Linked DNA regions of Homo sapiens: regions 1 and 2 are each linked to region 3. The links are contacts of gene promoters, found by promoter capture Hi-C in human tissues and cell types (Jung and others, 2019). All regions are on one chromosome and are shown on one strand. The core of a region is centred on a gene start or on the middle of the fragment in contact, and the rest is flanking DNA. Distances in the headings are between cores, read along the strand shown. Region 1 has its middle 16 kb from the start of IVL. Region 2 overlaps LOC105371446 (a long non-coding RNA gene). Region 3 holds the start of SPRR4 (small proline rich protein 4).

Region 1 (3,242 bases), core at 20-2,519, 46 kb before region 3:
AAAACTCCATATGACAAATAGTATGGTTTCTTTAATAAAAAATTGCAAAGGGACAAAAGAAATAAACTGGGAACCTTTAGATCAAAATAAACTTAAGAGATATATAGATGTATTAATTAATAAAAATGTATCTACATTATTTTGATGTCATTTCAAATAAGTCATTAGTAAATTAATGATTTGTAGCATAATTGGAAATGTGAACACTGAGTGGATATTTCCTAGTATAAAGATGTTAGCTAGTATTTTCAAGGTGTGATAATATTTAACATAACTACTGAAAAAAGTATTTATAGATATAAAGAGATGAAATGACATGAGTCTGTGATTTGCTAAAAGTAACACTGTAGGAGGCAAGTGGTAAGAGAGATAAAATGAACAACGTTGTCCATAATTTGAAAGTTATTAAACCTAGTTGATGTACACGTGATTTATTCTACTATTCTGTTCATTTATATGTTTTAAATTACCATTAAAATGTCTTTAAAATAATATAATAATTTTATTGAAGTGAACTAACATATACAGTATAAAAACTGCATCCTTTGTAACTACACATATAATTAAAAAAAAATTAAGACTTCAACTTAAAAGTGTAACGAGCAGTGCAGAACTTTTAAAACATTTCAGAGAGCTGTCTTAGGTTGGTTCCCTGAAGAAGCACAGTCTGCGACAAGTGAATAGGTACAAGTAGTTTATTTTGAGATGTGACCCCAAATAGCAGAAGTCAGGGCCACTAGGAAGAATAAAACAATAGAGAGAGAAAGTCAGTCCAATGGTGTGCTGTTGAGCTGTGTATTCCTGTGGATAACAGGCTAAACCGCACCCTGAAGTTTCCAAGGGCCATCTAGAACATATATTAGAACTGTTTGCTGGAGATACTGAAAAGAATGCTTGCTCTCTGTGTACTCCTATGTCTAGTAACCAGTGGTTGTCTGGAGGATGTTAACCTCCTCACGTTTCCACCCTGTGCTTCCACCAGCATGACTGAGTAGTCGGCTGTGAGTGTTCCACAGCCTGGCTGTCAAGAGCCCTGGGGCAGATGTGAGAGACACCTAGTGCAGCTGAAGTGAGGTGCTGTGGGATACTCCTCAGCATAGGTGGTTGCCATAGCTACAGCCTGGGTAAAATGGTGAGCTGAGAAAACAGGAGGAAGGGCATAAAAAATGTTAGACTGTAGACATCTAGAAAGTTTGACAGGAGATATTTATGGACCTTATAATCAGAGTGTCTTCCTATTGCAATGGTCCATTTCCCTCCTTGCAATAATCCTTTTGAATAAAGTCTCTCTACAGTAAGAAAGTTCAACAGCAACTGATTAATCTTCCTAATGTTTTCTCTTTCTCATTTAAGTCTGAGATTTATTACAAATTCGGTTCTTTTTGTAATTTCTGTTTTAATTATAGTTACAACCCTTTTTTAACTTTCCATATTAACTTTTTTCTCTTTTTTATCTTGGTCAACATTTTTAATTTTGACTATTTTTTTCACCTTTTCAAAGAATCGGTTTGGCTTAGTCGATTCATATAATATATCTTTGTCTTTTATTTTATTAATTTTTCATTTTATATTTAGTATTTTCTTACATATACTTTCTTTTTTTTTTTTTTTTTTTTTTGAGACGGAGTCTCGCTCTGTCGCCCAGGCTGGAGTGCAGTGGCGGGATCTCGGCTCACTGCAAGCTCCACCTCCCGGGTTCACGCCATTCTCCTGCCTCAGCCTCCCAAGTAGCTGGGACTACAGGCGCCCGCCACTACGCCCGGCTAATTTTTTGTATTTTTAGTAGAGACGGGGTTTCACCGTTTTAGCCGGGATGGTCTCGATCTCCTGACCTCGTGATCCGCCCGCCTCTGCCTCCCAAAGTGCTGGGATTACAGGCGTGAGCCACCGCGCCCGGCCTACATATACTTTCTTTAGCATTTATTTTTTAATTCCACTTTCCTGTATTAGATCATTAATTTTCAGCCTTTCATATTTTATATAAACTTTTAAAGTCTTAATTCTCCTTACTTTTATTGCTTTTTCTGTATATCTAGTGAGTTCTGATATGCAATATTTATGCTACTGTTTAGTTCCAAGCATTTAAAAATCTCCTCCAGACTGTCCTGTCCAGGAGTAAAAGTTACGGTAATGCCACAATATCACACATAGGAAGGACAACATTGGCTCTTATGCCTCAGAAATCAACATTTGGACCATTCTGCTAGGTAACGGAAATAATAAAAATAATAAATAATTTATAAGCAAACAAAACAAGCTGACCAGGTGAGGCACTGCTGTGGAGGTTAAAAGGATGTCTGCTGGAGTCACACACTTGAGATTGAACCCAGCTCTTCTGCTTACATTCTATGTGATCCTGGGCAGGCTACATCATATCTCTGATCTGTTTCTTCATTATTAAAATGCAGACAAAAATATTGACCTTTCAGCATTGGTTTCGTTATTAAATAACACTTGCAAAGTACTTAGGTTAGTGTCTAGCACACGAAAGGGGCTCAGCAAATGAAAGCAGTGGTTCACACAGCATATTTGGGATTTCAGAAGTTCCTTTTGTTTTCCTCTGTGCCTTTTACTCATGTCTAATTAGACCATGAAAACAGACTTTGCTTCTTTCTTATGTGTTAGGAATTTTTCAAAGCATTTTGCATTCTTGAACCCATTTAATCCCTTAAAATGAAACCCAGTAAAGGGCACATATTCTGTACTAGGAAATCCTAACTGATTTTGATTAACTTACCAGCTAAAGCAAACTGTGTCTGTGGGGAAATGAGGAGGTTGCCCCAAAGGACTACAATGATAGGCTTTGGCTTGTTGCTTTTGGGATGTTCCTAGCACAAAGGAATAAAAATACAGTTTGAGCAAGAAGCTATAATGGGTGGCTCACCACTGGTAAAAGCTAGCCAAGAGGAAGAGCACTCAGGATGCCTGCTAGCCTTCCAAAGTATCTGTGATCTCTTGCTACCCTCTAGGGCTGTGATGTAGAATTGCAGGACCGAGAGAAAAGGGCTTCACCTGAGGGAGGCTCCTAAATGCAAAGCTTGGGCATCCAGGGTCTGCGTGAGACACCTCCAAGAAAACGGTGATGAATAAGGAAATTTGTGCCCTGAAGGATTCAGACAGAGCAAGGATATGAAACAAATGCATAAAGTACTTTTACTAACAATAACTGTGCCCCATTTATTGAGTGTTGCCACACGTCAGTCAGTGTCAAAGGCTTTACATGCATGATCTCAACTTTCTGG
Region 2 (3,114 bases), core at 379-2,878, 52 kb after region 3:
ATCTTATGGTCAAGATTAAAATTTTATAGATTGTAGAATTTTGAAAAACAAATTTAATTGACTTCTTGCTATTTTTATTAGGGCTTATTGTTTTGAAAATTAAGTATCCTTATTATGCTTCAAAAACTACAGTACACCTGTTGTTAGATTCCAGTCTTGCCTAATGTTTTTCAACTGTTATTATTTTCTACAGTTTGGACCAAATTCTAATTTTCTTGGCTACAAGTCTTCAAAATAATGTTTTCAATTCTTTTCCTTCTTTTTCCCCCCATTTTTCCTAATTGAGAGTCACTGAAAACTAAGCTGTGCTTTCTTAAAGCCCTACGAACTGAAGGTGGACAACTTAAACTTCGGAAGAAAATAATAGCAACCTATTTACATACATAAGCCACTTTCATACCTGCCTACTAATATATGGACTTCAGAGTAATGTGTCCTACATCGATTTTCTAGGGTTTTCCTTTTGTTTGTTTTTCTCCCTTCCTCCCCCTATTTTCTCTTCATACAACATGAGACTTCACAACCTGCTAAAATGGGCTTTCCTAATAACTCAGGACCTACCCATCTAGGAATAAACCATCCTAGCCATGAGAGATCAGATGAAACCTGGGAAAAGAGACTCAATTTCTTCTAAAATGCTTTCTCCAAAAGATTTTTTAAAAGAAAAGGGGGGAAGAATGGTAGGAAAATAAATCTCAGGGCCCCCAAATCACTAAGCTAAAGGGAAAAGTCAAGCTGGGAACTGCTCAGGGCAAACCTACCTCCCATTCTACTCAAAGTCACCCCTCTGCTCACTGAGATAAATGCATATCTGATTGCCCCCTTTGGAGAGACTAATCAGAAACTCAAAAGAATGCAACTATTTGTCTCTTATCTACCTGTGATCTGGAAGCCCCCTCTCTGCTTCCTGTTGTCCCACCTTTCCTGACCGAACCAATATTCATCTTACATGTGTTGATTGATGTCTTATGTATAAAACCAAGCTGCGCTCTGACCACCTTGGGCACATGTCGTCAGGACTTCCTGAGGCTGTGTCACGGGCATGCATCCTCAACCTTGGCAAAACAAACTTTCTAAATTAACTGAGACCTGTCTGGTTTCACAGCTGGAATGAAGGTAAAACAGCCCTCCCCAAATCCACTTCCTTATAGCAGGGCTCATTTTGCATATAAAAGCCCAGTTGGCCAGAGACTCCTAACCAGACCTGAGAGGCCAGGGAGCTCAATCTTCTGAAGTAAGAGTTCCAACCTGAAACTGTTTAATATTCACCTAATTGTATCTTATTTTGATTGGGGTCTCCTTGCAATGCTAAGGCTATGGTTATTTGAAATGGATTTGCAGTTTGTACTTAAGGGTACTGTAATGCCCAACCTTGTTTTTCCTTTTTCACCTAGCCTTGTTTCCACCTGAATAGACTCTCCCTTAGCTGAGAGAACCAGACAAACTCCATCTTGGCTCTTTCACTTGTAGCCCCTTCCTCAAGGACTTAACTTGTGCAAGCTGACTCCCAGCACATCCAAGAATGCAATTAACTGATAAGATACTGTGGCAAGCTATATCCACAGTCCCCAAGAATTCGTCTGATTGATAATGCCCAAAGCCCCGTGTCTACCCCCTTGTAATAGTCTTAAAGCCCCTGCACCTGGAACTGTTTACTTTCCTGTAACCATTTATCCTTTTAACTTTTTGACTACTTAAATTCTGTAAAATTGTTTTAACTAGACACCCCCTCCCCTTTCTAAACCAAGATATAAAAGTTAATCAAGCCCCTTCCTCGGGGCCGAGAGAATTTTGAGCATTAGCCGTCTCTCGGTCGCCGGCTAATAAAGGACTCTTAATTCGTCTCAAAGTGTGGCGTTTTTCTAACTCCCTCGGGTACAACAGTACTAAAGCAGTTCTTTTTGACTTCCCACTCAGATTACAGCTGTGGGACTGAGACTCAGAAAAGGGAAGTGACTTATTTTAGAGTGCTGTTCCCTGAGCAGGAGGAATGAACTAGACTCCATGCCCAGGGCACTTTTAGTGATATTTTAATCATCTGTATGATTTTTAGAATTGTCAGCATCAAAGGCACTGCATTAGACAATTTGGATGTTCAAAACTTAAATCTAGGTGCAGTGGCACATTCTGTAGTTCCACCAACATTGGAGGCTGAGGCTGGAGGATCACTTGAGCCCAGGAGTTTGAGGCCTGCCTAGGTGACATAGCAAGACCCCATTTCTTAAAAAGAAAAAAAAAAAGTTAAATTCTTCCTTGCTACACAAACCTATGATCTATCAGAGAACACAACACGTGCACAAACTTTGCAAACATACAGCATGGGGAGTATGAGATCAGTAAAGAGGACAAATCATGTACCATGCTGTGGCTAAATAAGGAAGATGAGTGTAAGGTTCTTGTATCAGTTCAAACTCCGAGAACATGCCAACAGACAACACGAGACAAAACATGCTGTTTTAATGAGCGCCTGGGTGCAGGGAAGCTGAGGCCTAAAATGGCGTCAGTCCCAAGTGAGGACGGGGCAAAGGTTTTACAGTCTCCTGTAAACAGGATGTGTCCTAGTCTGACGCAACTGCTATGTTGTACCTGGATGGCCTCTTTCAGGATCTTCAGGGGTACGTGTCTTCCAGCCGGGGTAGGTGTCCTTCAGCCAGCTCTCTTCCTGCTTCTGCTATCTTGCTGACGCATGCTGCTGATGCAAGTGGCCTTGCACCTTGGGACTGGGCCTGAGAAGGCAGGAGTTATTCATCTCCTTAAGCTTTCAGGCCCATGGGAGAATCTCACAAATGAGACCATCAGGGAGGACAACCAGGAGGGGTGGGCAGGTGTGGACAAGTAGTGTTGGCACGGAGAGCCTTCCAGAAAACATGTGCAGTGGGCAACGTGTGAAAACAGGGTCACAGTTGGATTGTATGGGCCTCAGGAGGAGGTTTAGATGGAGTTTTCCTATGAGAACTATGGCACTGTATAAGGTAGGCATGAGTGAGTAGACTTTAGACTATTGACCTTTCCAAATTATTGCAAATCTGGGGCCTCCCATCAGTCCTTGGAGGCTTGTTAGGTTCCCTCACTAGTGTATGCTCTTAGATATACCAAGAAAAATGGAAGCTAAGA
Region 3 (2,983 bases), core at 431-2,930:
TGTGGAAGTGAGGGCTGCAGGTGGAGATGGTGTTCTTCTTGGAGGTGGAATGCAGAACCAGAATCTGGAACCCAGAATATTACATTCTTAGTGTTGCTAGGCTTGGGAAGAGGAAGTGGGGGAGGTCTGGCCTGGAGGGGAAAATTAAGGGGCTGATTAAAGTGAGGCTGACCCTGAAAAATGAACAGTATTCCATCCACATAAGACAGAAAGCTCAGGAGACGTTATTAGTCATGGTCCCCACCCAATGACAGTGACTTGTCCACCATGGAGATGCTGACTGCGGTGATGGAGTGGAAATGAGCCCCAGGCCAGGCACCCACCCAGCTCCACCCTGAGCAGCTGCATGTGGTTGAGCAGGTCCTTTAACTTCTTTGGGCCAGCCTCTTTAAATTGTCAGTAAAATTGTCATGAGGATTAAATGAGGTGAGGGATTTGAAAAATGCTTTGGAAAGTACATTAAGGTATTCCTATCATTTCTCAGGCCATCCTACCCCTTCCTCTGGTGATGGCAGTGGTGAGCCCTTGCATGGCCTCTTGTTGGGCAGCATCCTGAGGTCGATCTTTGGGGTAGAGGGCTAGAGGTGGACCAGCTTCCCAGAGGCCCTGCCTTTCTCCATCCCAGGGCCTAGGAGGCTAAATGGAGGACCAGGGCTCCTTCCTGCCACCTAGATAAGGCCCTGAGTAGGATTGCTGTATTTAGCAAATAAAAATAGAGCCTGCCCAGTGAAATTTGAATTTCATATGAACTACAAGTAATTTTTGAGTATGTTTCCTGCAATATTTGGAATATACTTATACTTTTAAAATATTCTGTTATCTGAGATTCAAATTTAACTGAATGTCCTGTATTTTATGTGGCAAGTCTACCACAGGGGCCAATTCTATCCCATGTTCTGTAACCACCACGAATACTCCTCAGCACCCCAACTCCCAATGGGCAGATGGGGACAGCACCGCCGTGTGCTGGGGCACCATTCACATCATCTTCTACCTGTGCCCCAGAGAAGCCTCACAGAACACTTCGTGAACTGTCCCCCTGGAATAGGAAGGACACTTGCACTGTGTATTGAGGAAGGGGGATGAGTGGTACCTGGGGCTAGGCATTGAATCATCCAGATCTGAATTCAAATCCCATCTCTGCTGTTTAATCTTTCTCAGCCTCACTTTTTTCATCTGCAAAATGGTAACAACGACACTTTCCCTAGAGGGGCCATGAAGATGAAATGAAATAATAAGCATGACGGATGGTCCTGGTGCTAGCCTCACAGTGAGTGCTCAAGAAATGGCAGCAATTTGCAGAAAAAGGGATGTTCACATTTTTGTCAGAATTGCCCCAAACCCCATCCTCTCCCTCTTCCTCTTTTTTCTTCAATATTTCTTATAACTGTCTGTCTGCAAACAGCTCCTTCAATTTGTACTATATTTAAAAGATCTTGAATCCCTGAGTTTGAGCAAACACCTTTGGTGGGTTAAATCAGCTCAGGTGCAGAGACTTGGAATGCTGAAAATATATGGTGGGTGGCTTTCATCAAAACAGGTCAGCAAAGCAAGTCCCTGAAGGAAGTGCAGGTGGGAGAAGTGGGTGAGGAATTCCCTGGGAGGTGGTAATCAGGACCACACCAAGTGCCCAGGGCAGGTTGGGGGCCCTATAAAGGCTCCTGGAGTGGCTCTGCCTGTGGACAAGGGCTCAGCCTCCTCTCCTGGGGTCCAGCTTGTCGCCTCTGGTAAGTGAGAACTCATCTGTTCTCCTGGGATTTGTGGGGCGCTTTCCTTCTCCTTTAACTCCTTTGAGCCGCTAGGCCAAGATCCTCTTCCATCCTTGGGTAATCAGGGAAGTGACACAAGTCTTCTGACAATTGCGGAAATGGCACACTAATCGGTACTTAGAAAGTTTAATCTCCATTCCGCACCATTGCTCAGTATGACTTATTTTCTGATCATGGGTTTGACTCCCCAGAAAGAAGATTTTTATTGTTGAAGAAGGAGATATTTAGAGCTACAGGATTTTGTAGCAATTCCGAGCCCTGTTTAAAGGTTTCTCACACCCTATTCTGCATTTTGCTTACCAGTAAGCTTTAAACTTTTCTTCCAGGTGTATGCAAACAGGTATATTGAACATTTTATTCAATCCTATGCAGCTCTCATGCTTCCCTATTCTGATTGCCACCTCTTTACTTCCTGAGGCCTGCACTTCCCATCTATAATCATTAACTTAGACCATAAGGAACACTGCCTACAAAGATAGCCAGAGACCCTCATCAGAGCTGGGAAGGCTTCAGGGAACTTCCTGACCAGCATCCTTCTAATAAGGGTGCTGAGACCCACAGAAGGAAGGTTGCCCATGAAGTTAATGGCAGGATGGACCTAGAACCAATGTCTGAGCCTTCTTGGCTAGCGCTCTTTCCTTTGAACATCCTCCTGTCATCCTTTGGCTCCAGTGATCTATTTGGCTGGCCCTCAAGCTTCCCAGTTCTTTGTAGAGGGCTGGAACCACTATCCTGTAGCCACATAGGACTTGCCTTAGTCTCCCATGGTGAGTCAGGGGTGGAGCAGGGATTAGAGATCAGGCCTCTGCATTCTTATACACCCCTTCTCCAGCCCGATCTCTCACACACACACACACACACACACACACACACACACTCACACACACACCATGATGCTTACCTGTAAGACAGAGACTGTTTTTGTCCTCTCCTCATGCCCCTACATCCTTGCCCATTCTCATTGTCTGCATTATCAAAGGGAGCCAGTTGACATTGTCCAGATCTGTCAGCTAAGATGGCATGCTTTGACCTTGTAAAATGTCTGGGCTACTTTTTAACCATCTTTTTAAAAAGGGTGTTAAAAGGCTACTTTTTAACACCCTTCTCATGGTGTCCCTGCCCGGTTTCCTTTAGGCTCACCTGTTCCTAGAGCAATGTCTTCCCAGCAGCAGCAGCGGCAGCAGCAGCAGTGCCCACCCCAGAGGGCCCAGCAG

The links. Contacts are between HindIII fragments. The study calls those that stand out against the background at their distance.
Region 1: a fragment that was not itself captured here is called in contact with the fragment with the promoter of SPRR4 in region 3 in 2 of the 25 tissues and cell types used here (aorta and liver).
Region 2: a fragment that was not itself captured here is called in contact with the fragment with the promoter of SPRR4 in region 3 in 3 of the 25 tissues and cell types used here (H1 embryonic stem cells, adrenal gland and pancreas).

What each region holds. Positions count from the first base shown.
Region 1 is chr1:152,923,322-152,926,563 of GRCh38, forward strand. No RefSeq gene overlaps it. Among named protein-coding and RNA genes, the nearest start is that of IVL, 16 kb to the left of the region's middle. RefSeq lists silencers at 2,915-2,964, 2,975-3,054. The HindIII fragment of the contact is 6,343 bases long and covers 1-3,242 here.
Region 2 is chr1:153,020,599-153,023,712 of GRCh38, forward strand. All of the region lies in intron 2 of LOC105371446 (a long non-coding RNA gene), which reads left to right. Among named protein-coding and RNA genes, the nearest start is that of SPRR1B, 9.0 kb to the right of the region's middle. RefSeq lists an enhancer at 2,178-3,114. The HindIII fragment of the contact is 5,832 bases long and covers 1-3,114 here.
Region 3 is chr1:152,968,968-152,971,950 of GRCh38, forward strand. It overlaps SPRR4 (small proline rich protein 4), which reads left to right and starts at 1,681. Exons shown (of 2, transcript NM_173080.3): 1 at 1,681-1,727; 2 at 2,904-2,983. The coding sequence starts at 2,924. The HindIII fragment of the contact is 6,838 bases long and covers 1-2,270 here.